3 separate regions of the Homo sapiens genome follow, and all the other regions are linked to region 3. The links are contacts of gene promoters, found by promoter capture Hi-C in human tissues and cell types (Jung and others, 2019). All regions are on one chromosome and are shown on one strand. Each heading gives the region's core, a stretch centred on a gene start or on the middle of the fragment in contact. The rest is flanking DNA. Distances are from core to core; before and after follow the strand shown.

Evidence for each region. The method cuts DNA at HindIII sites, captures the fragments that hold promoters and counts their contacts. A contact is called where the count stands out against the background at its distance.
Region 1: a contact is called between a fragment that was not itself captured here and the fragment with the promoter of TRIM55 in region 3, in 5 of the 25 tissues and cell types used here (H1 embryonic stem cells, bladder, lymphoblastoid cells and 2 more).
Region 2: a fragment that was not itself captured here is called in contact with the fragment with the promoter of TRIM55 in region 3 in 1 of the 25 tissues and cell types used here (H1 embryonic stem cells).

What each region holds. Positions count from the first base shown.
Region 1 is chr8:66,300,229-66,303,161 of GRCh38, forward strand. All of the region lies in intron 1 of LOC102724687 (a long non-coding RNA gene), which reads right to left. Among named protein-coding and RNA genes, the nearest start is that of LINC00967, 110 kb to the left of the region's middle. The HindIII fragment of the contact is 6,401 bases long and covers 1-2,933 here.
Region 2 is chr8:66,277,681-66,280,665 of GRCh38, forward strand. The region is part of intron 1 of LOC102724687 (a long non-coding RNA gene); the gene reads right to left. Among named protein-coding and RNA genes, the nearest start is that of LINC00967, 87 kb to the left of the region's middle. The HindIII fragment of the contact is 5,569 bases long and covers 1-2,985 here.
Region 3 is chr8:66,125,737-66,128,509 of GRCh38, forward strand. It overlaps TRIM55 (tripartite motif containing 55), which reads left to right and starts at 1,393. Exons shown (of 10, transcript NM_184085.2): 1 at 1,393-1,700; 2 at 2,568-2,740. The coding sequence starts at 1,533. RefSeq lists a silencer at 939-1,211. The HindIII fragment of the contact is 11,068 bases long and covers 1-2,773 here.

The DNA of each region.
Region 1 (2,933 bases), core at 357-2,856, 170 kb after region 3:
TCAAATCTTTATGGGAAATATTAAATAGAAGCAGAACAACCAAAAGCTTCAGTCACAGTGAACAATTAAAGGGCAGCCACCACAGACAGCATCCTTGGAGCCCAGAGCAGTCCCAAGCCCAGCCCCGGGTACCTTCCTGTCACTTCTGCTTCACTAAGAAGTGAATGGTAATACAGGAAATGGTAGGAGTATCCTTTCAAACTCCTTTCTTTATGAAATAACCTTTTTTAAAAAATGGTAACTAACAAAGTCTTATTGAAACATTTTATTATGGATACTTGGCATTTAAAGGGAAATCTATTAGTCAAGCAATGGCATTAATAAAAGGCATTTCTTCTGAAGTTGACAACAATTATTCAATTGATCAGCACCATCAGCTACATCGATCACTGCTGGGACATGGGTAGCATTCCAATTGGAGCACAGAAAGGAGGGTGTTTGGAGGAGTGTACTGTGTAAACCAAATACAAGTAAACAATTACCTATGTTGTCACACCTGTAACCCCAGCACATTGGGAGGCCGAGGTGGGCAGATCATGAGATCAGGAGATCAAGACCATCCTGACCAAGAGGCTGAAACCCTGTCTCTACTAATAATACAAAAATTAGCTGGGTGTGGTGGTGCACACCTGTAATCTCAGCTACTCGGGAAGCTGAGGCAGGAGAATCGCTTGAACTCAGGAGGTAGAGGTTGCAGTGAGCCGAGATGGTGCCACTGCACTCCAGCCTGGCAACAGAGCGAGACTCCATCTTAAAAAAAACAAAAAAAAAAACAAAAAAAAACAGTGTGTCACCTCCATCTTACAGATGAGTAAAGCACCGTACAGGGAGGTTAATGCTAAAGCATTGTCAACAGGTAATGTTAATGTTAAGTCAATTTTACATAAACTACTATGTCTTCAATAAGTTTTCCTCGTTTTTGCATCACTTTGCTTGTATGCAGGGATTTCACAATTTGGCATATAAAAACATAGGAATATTTAATCATACTCTTAATTCTAAAAACAAACCAGAATGTCCCAAGAAAGGAATAAATTTAAAAATATACATTTTCAAAGAATATTTAGTGGAATGAGGAAATTTCTTGATACAATCATAAGTAACAAAAAAGCAAAGAATATAAAACTATATTTTCAATTTCAGCATAATTCATTTGATCCCAATTTTGTAAACATGAGCACATGTTTATGTAGCAACATGTTGAAAAAAGACTGGAAGGAAATATACCAAAAATGTTAACGTACTTGATTTGGGGTATTAAGAGTAGGTTTTTTTCTTTACACATTTTTTGTTTCAAAATTATCTATAATAAATATTCATTGTATAATTAGAAAAAATGTAATGTGTTTTAAATGACCAAGTTTCTATTCTTTGAAATAATTCTAGTATCCTTTCCACTTATTTATGCATAATTCATGTCCTGTGCAGTAATAAAACTACCCCCAACCCATTTCAAAATTTCCTCCAAGCACAAGGTCATTAACCCCAAAATGAAACAAATTGAAGCTTTAAAATTCTATAGTCCTAGGCCTCTATATGTATTGCCACATTTACTTCATACATAGTGAAGATACAGAAAAATAAGGAGTTTTACCACGGACTGGTGTGTCTGCAATTTTGCCGTTCACATTCTGTTGTATTAACTTTAGGCTTTATAAAGGAATATTTCAAATATTGACTATTGAGACTTCACCTGTTAGACAGGCATTGCTTGGGGATATAAATCATACATACATCCTGTTCCTAATTAAGGAGGAAGACTGTCCCATGTCATTGGAGACAACAGAATGAACAGCTGCTTCTGCAATGTCAGCTCTTGCATCAGTCAAAATGTTGCTTAGAAACGCTTGTGAGGATTAAGATGAAGTTATATATACTGTTATCTATACCTCAGTCCCTGGGGCTGAGGACAGCCACCAGACATACCTGTACAAGACAAGGAAGTTTGCGACATTAAATCTTTATTTCAATGGCACACTGTCCACGGAAGACAGACATATGCAAACCTACCCACAAAGTCCAAGGAAGCTGAGAGGCTGAAGAAAGAAGCTGACAAGTCCAGTTTCTCCAAAAGAAACTTTTAATAAGGACTTATAAACAGAAGCCTTGTCTGTGTCTTCAGCAGCCGCAAGACAAGAGGGTGGGTTTTTTTGTTGTTGTTGTTTTTTTTTGAGACTGAGTTTCGCTCTTGTTGCCCAGGCCTGGAGTGCAATGTCATGATATCAGCTCACTGCAACCTCCACCTCCCGGGTTCAAGCGATTCTCCTGCCTCAGCCTCCCAAGTAGCTGGGATTACAGGCATGTGCCACTACGCCCAGCTAATTTTGTATTTTTAGCAGAGACAGGGTTTCACCATATTGGTCAGGCTGATCTCCAACTCCTGACCTCAGGTGATACCCCTGCCTCGGCCTCTCAAGGTGTTAGGATTATGGGCGTGAGCCACTGCACCCAGCAAGAGGATGGATTCCAGTGCCATTATACCTTCCAGACACAGAGCTTATATACCACAGGGAAAGGGTGTACATGATTCAGAAGGGATGTGTCAGACAACTGAAGTATGATAATCTCAAGGTTGTTTAGACTTAAGGACAGGATTCGTGGCAAGTACATGCTCTTACACAAGGGACAATAGATAAACTGGAAATCTTAGAGGGCTTCCCAGAACAGGGTCAATTAGGAGTCAACATGGTGGGTTAGCATCCAAGATGGAATTGTTTTAGCCTCCACACATATATAGCAAAGAGAGGGCTTGGACTTTATGAAGGGAAATGAAAAAGGAATTCAGATTCCAGAACTGCTTTATAGGAGAGGTTTGTGGGTGGGAATCTCATTAGGACCAAAAGCACCTTGTCCTGAAGCTACAGTCAAACAGTCCTGGTTCAAGTCCCAATTATCCCACTAGTTACCTTTGTAACTATTGATGAACCATGCAA
Region 2 (2,985 bases), core at 50-2,549, 150 kb after region 3:
AAGGGAAAACTGGTCCTAAGGTAATGTGGGCCTGAAATCGAGTCTTAAAAAAGAGACAGTTTGGGAAAAGGGGAGGTATGAATGGAGAGAAATCAAATACTGAGCATGACCTCCCAGCAGAGAGTTGAAAACAATACAGCAGGCTTTCCAGCAGGGAAGAGTTTATTAATAACACTGATAATATAATGAAATGTACAGTTGTGAGGCGCTTCTCCTTCAGAGAGGTCAAAGCATTTTCCTGTGTGGCCAAATCCCTCTGCAATCTGATTCAGTGGTTTCTGTGGCTGGGACGGAAGGGAGGAAACTGAGGCATGGGGAGACGGGTGAAATTAAGCCTCCTGCACCATTCACAGCAGATCAGACCCATGTGAGATCAGACCTCCTTGAGCCCAGGCTGGGTCGCGTGCTAGCCTGTGCAGAACATTGGTGCCTCCCTCCCTGAGCTCCTCCCCTTGCAGCAGTCTCTGCTAGGCTGCCAAGGGGGCAAGTGGGCTGTGTTGATGTTCCTTTGTACTCGCATTGCTCTTAGGATAAAACCCACACTCCTTAGTATGGCATCAGGCCGAGGTCTTCATGATTAAGCAATACCCTCCTCTCCAGCCTTTGTTACAGCAGCAACTAGGAAACTAATACCTGACTCAGGGGTCATCCAGGGGTAGAGAAAGAGTATCCTAATCATTTCCTGCAGCAAAAACAAAATACCTGAGATTGGGTAACTTATAAAGAACATAAACTTTTTATTTCTCACAGTTCTGGAGGCTGGAAAGCCCAGGACCTGGGCACTGGCAGATTCCATGTGTGTCTGGGGAGGGCTGCTCTCTGCTTGCAAGTTGGTGTCTTGTTGCTGCATCCTCCAGAGGGGAGGAGCACTGTGTCCTCACACAGCAGACGGGACAGGAGGGATGAAGTTGCCCCTTCAAGCCCTTTTATAAGGCACTAATCCATTCATAAGGGCCAAGCCCCCATGGCCTACTCACCTCCTAAAGGCCTCACCTTGCAACACTATTGCATTGGGAATTAAGTTTCAACAGGAATTTTGGAGAAGACACAAACATTTAAACCATAGCAGAAGGAAAGGGGCCCCCTCCCGCTCCAGCCCCTTCAGCCTCAACTACTATGGTGGCCCCACATGCCTGTTCCTGTTTCTCAGTTATGCCAACAAGTGCGCCAGGGTCCCCGTCTCCACACCGGGGCTGGGAGTGTCCAGCCCTCTTTCTCCACCTGGATAGCCCCTGAGTTCTTGTATTCGTTTCCTAGTTCCTTCCTAACAACATACCTCAAATTGGGTGTATTAAAGCAACAGAAATGTATGGTCTCAGTTCTGGAGACCAGAAGTCTGAAATCAAGATGCTCGCCAGGGCTATGCTCCCTCCGAAGGTGTGAGGGCCTCTCTCCCAGACTCTGGTGGGTCCCTGGCTTGTGGCGGCATAACTCCAATCATCACATGGCACTCCCCCTGTGTGCGCGGCTGTTCCTGTGCCCAAACCTTCCCTTTTTTTTTTTTTTTTGAGATGGAGTCTCGCTCTGTCTCCCAGGCTGTAGTGCAGTGGCGCGATCTCGGCTCACTGCAAGCTCCCTCTCCCGGGTTCCCGCCATTCTCCTGCCTCAGCCTCCCAAGTAGCTGGGACTACAGGCGCCTGCCACCGCGCCTGGCTAATTTTTTTGTATTTTTTTAGTAGAGATGGGGTTTCACTGTGTTAGCCAGGATGGTCTCGATCTCCTGACCTCGCGATCTGGCCGCCTTGGCCTCCCAAAGTGCTGGAATTACAGGCGTGAGCCACCACGCCCGGCCCGAACCTTCCCTTTTTTATAAGGACACTAGTCATACTGGGTTGGAGCCCATTCTAATGACCTCATTTTAACTTGATTACCCCTGTAAAGGACCTAATTCCAAATAATGGCACATTCTGAGGTACTGGGGCTGAGGATTCCCACATATCTTTCTTGCAGGGAACACTGTTCCACTCATAATGGTCCTAAAAGCCATAATTTGAGCATCACCCCTAGGCCGGGCTGGGCTGAGTGTCCTTCCCCTGCACCTCTCTGGTGTCCTGCCTGGTCCTCATCACACCACATTATGAAGCCCACTTGTCTGTGCTCCCCACTTGCCTGTGACTCTGAGAGAAGAAATGGAGGCTTCTCTCAGATCCTACTCAGGTGGGTACATTGTGGGCATCAAACATGTTCCAATGAATGAACGCAGACAGTGATGGATCTTGCCAACGGTGGTGCTGGCTCCATTACCCGCCATCACCACAGGAGTACAGGTGAACACATGGTCAGCAGGCTTGAGTGACCTCTGTCCAGACTCCGGCCTCAAGGACAACTAGGTGAGCTGGCAAATTTAGTCCATTTGTCTCATGCCAACCTGGTCCCGACAGCTGGAAACTTCAGCAAAGATGGGGGCCCACAGGATGGCTTTTCAGGAGCTCCAAACCATTGTCCTGAATGTCATCTTTCAAGTTGTGATCATGAATGGCTGCCAAGATGAAGAGAATTTTTTTTTTCTAGTTGTTTTTCTCCCTGATCTTTCTCAGCACCCCATGGACCCATTCTTCTAGATGAGAGCCCTTGAAGGGGAACAATAGCAGAAACTCAAAGCTGTTGCTAAAATGTGCAGCTTGCTTCTGTCCCAACATGCAGAGCAGTTGCAGGGCCGCCACTCACCCATTACTTTCTCATATTCTCTCTGCTGCAAGTCAAAGGCCCACTCGGGGCTGGCTCACGTCCCTGTTGTGGCTGGACCAGTCAGGACATTGCTCAGTGCTGGGTTTCTGACTGTAGCATCTGGCCTGTTCAAAGCAAGTTTTGAAATTAAAACCACTATCTTTCTACCCAGCTGTGGTAAAAATGCTGAAGATTAATTTGGAAGTGTAGGTCACAGCTGTTCTTCAATAACTGGCACATCTGTGTGGACGCTCTTATTTCTGTCTTAGTTCTTTCCTGCTGCTCTAACAACATACCTTAGACTGAGTAATGTATAAA
Region 3 (2,773 bases), core at 143-2,642:
TATAACTTATTATTAGTTAATAGAGCTTACTAGATTCTCAATAAGCTCTCCGTGCACACAGCACTAAGACCACACATAACTGACCTACACTTCACTGGTAATTTAATTCACACCAGGGATATGTTAACAAAATGTGTTTATTGCCCAAGGTTTTTAAAATGAAGGAGAAAGAAAGCCGAAATTTATCACATATAAACAGACTTGGATTTCTTTTTTATTTTTGATCTGATTTAAACATTTTTAAATACAATATGTATTGGTTAAACTGTTGCTTCACAAAATCCTGATGAATGTCAGAATCGATGTTTATGACTCAAGAGCAGACCAAGAATATCAGAAATGACCAGAGAAACTATGGTTTAACAAGTCACCTTGGAGGAAGGGGAAATGCAAGGGAGAATAGGTATTTTGGAGGCAGATGAAATGCAGATATGGAAGTAGGACTCCATTTATACTTCAGTTGTCAATGGCACTGGTAACTGTCCCCCAAGGGATGACAAAATAAAATAATAGATCTGCCACCTCCAGGTGCCTGCCAGTTACTACCTCATTACAGATTATTGTTGCAAACTATTATATAATTTAAGAATTTAAATAATCAGTAAAAGACTATCAAATTTTCTTTGTGTTTTTGGGTGTATGTAGGAGGTGGGGCAGTATAGGATGAAAGAGGGCCAAGGAAGAGGAAAGCAATGTGGAAGAGCAAACAGCATACTAGAGTTGTTTTATAATGTAACTTTTTTCTCAAATAATTAGATCATCCACTGGTTTTGAATTTTTATTTATGCATGTATTTATTTATTTATTAGGTGGATACCTTTATGGTGAAGGGATTTGAATTTAGCTTTTAAATTGGAATTTTTCAAAGACCACAACCCCAGCTGACAAAGATGAAATACTTAACATTAAGAAAGTCTTTTTGATGATTGCCTTTGTGAAGCCAGGATAACAATTTTCGAGACATGTTTTGTTCATTTTCACCTAAGAAGGTGCTATTAGGCTACTTTCCGTGACTCAATTCCTACACTCTCAAGACAGGGCTGGCATTAGTTACACAGACTCTGTGCTGCGTTCTGCCCCTTCCTGGAGAAGCCATCGCCAAGTTCTCAGTGAGTGCTCACAGAGGGCATGGTTCAGTGGCTAGGCATGCACATTTGCATTTGTTGTTGACAACTGTCAGCTTCGACCTCCTTCTCCTCACAACCCCGTCTAAATGGGGTTTGTAATCCTCCTTCCCACCCACTCTCTTCACTCCCTGGGGCAAGAATGTTGACTCCTGCTCTCCGTCACCTGTCAGGATCCATCCTCCTGTCACTGGCTTATATGGACACGTCAGCCCACCGTCACGTGACCGCAGGCTGCTAAAAACAGCTCCAGCACCCACTCCAAACCAGGGCCTGAAACAATGTCCTCCACCGAGAGAAACGTAAAGGACACTTGATCACACAATCCCTGGAATAATATCCAGGAAACACTTGCTGGAGCCACTCGCAGCACCCTTCCCTGGCAGCACACTTGGGGACAGCGAGGAGATGAGCGCATCTCTGAATTACAAATCTTTTTCCAAAGAGCAGCAGACCATGGATAACTTAGAGAAGCAACTCATCTGTCCCATCTGCTTAGAGATGTTCACGAAACCTGTGGTGATTCTCCCTTGTCAGCACAACCTGTGTAGGAAATGTGCCAGTGATATTTTCCAGGTAGGTTTGTTTGGAATTTGGTTGAGGGGAGGGGGTGGAAAAGATTCCCTCCTCTTGGAATCAAGTGCTTAACATTGAGGTGAAATCCTTTAAAAAACTTTATAAGGTTGCCGGGCGCTTTGGCTCACGCCTGTAGTCCCAGCACTTTGGGAGGCTGAGGCCAGTGGATCACCTGAGGTCAGGCCTTCGAGACCAGGCTGGCCAACATGGCAAAACCCCATCTCCACTAAAAATACAAAAAAAAAAAAATTAGCTGGGCATGGTGGCGGGCACCTATAATCTCAGGTACTTGGGAGGCTGAGGCAGGAGAATTGCTTGAACCCAGGAGGCGGACATTGCAGCGAGCGGAGATCGTGCCATTGCCCTCCGGCCTGGGCAACAGAGCAAGACTCTGTCTCAAAAAAAGAAAAACAAACAAACAAAAAAACTTTATAAAGTTGCATTTACTTTCAAGAAAAACACGTTTCTTTTAATGATTTGGTTTGTGTCCTCTTTACTCCCAAATCTAGTTTTATTTTAATACTAAGAATCATATTTTTTTTTAAGTCAAACCATTTAATGTGTTTCAAAACTATAAATGAGTAACTGCTGAAGACATGAGTGTGGAGTTTCTGGCTGGAACTTTTGGTTCTGAAAGTGGTGGACGGAAAAGCACCTTACGTGGACAATGGTATATTCGCAGATGACTGTGGATAAGGTCTGACCCTGTGTTTCAGGACCACTTGCTGAGAAAGCCCTGAGGGATGATCTTATGGCAAGCTTAAAGTAGAAGTTCATGTTGTTTGTAGTAGCAGAGAGTGAAAATAAGTCTCAGAGAAGCTGCTTGTGGCATTACCCAATTCCTTTTTTCTTACTTGGCAAGAACAGGCCTCTAACCCGTATTTGCCCACAAGAGGAGGTACCACCATGGCATCAGGGGGCCGATTCCGCTGCCCATCCTGTAGACATGAAGTGGTTTTGGATAGACATGGGGTATATGGACTTCAGAGGAACCTGCTGGTGGAAAATATCATTGACATCTACAAGCAGGAGTCCACCAGGTAACACTCTTCCACTCTTCCATGTGTCAAGCC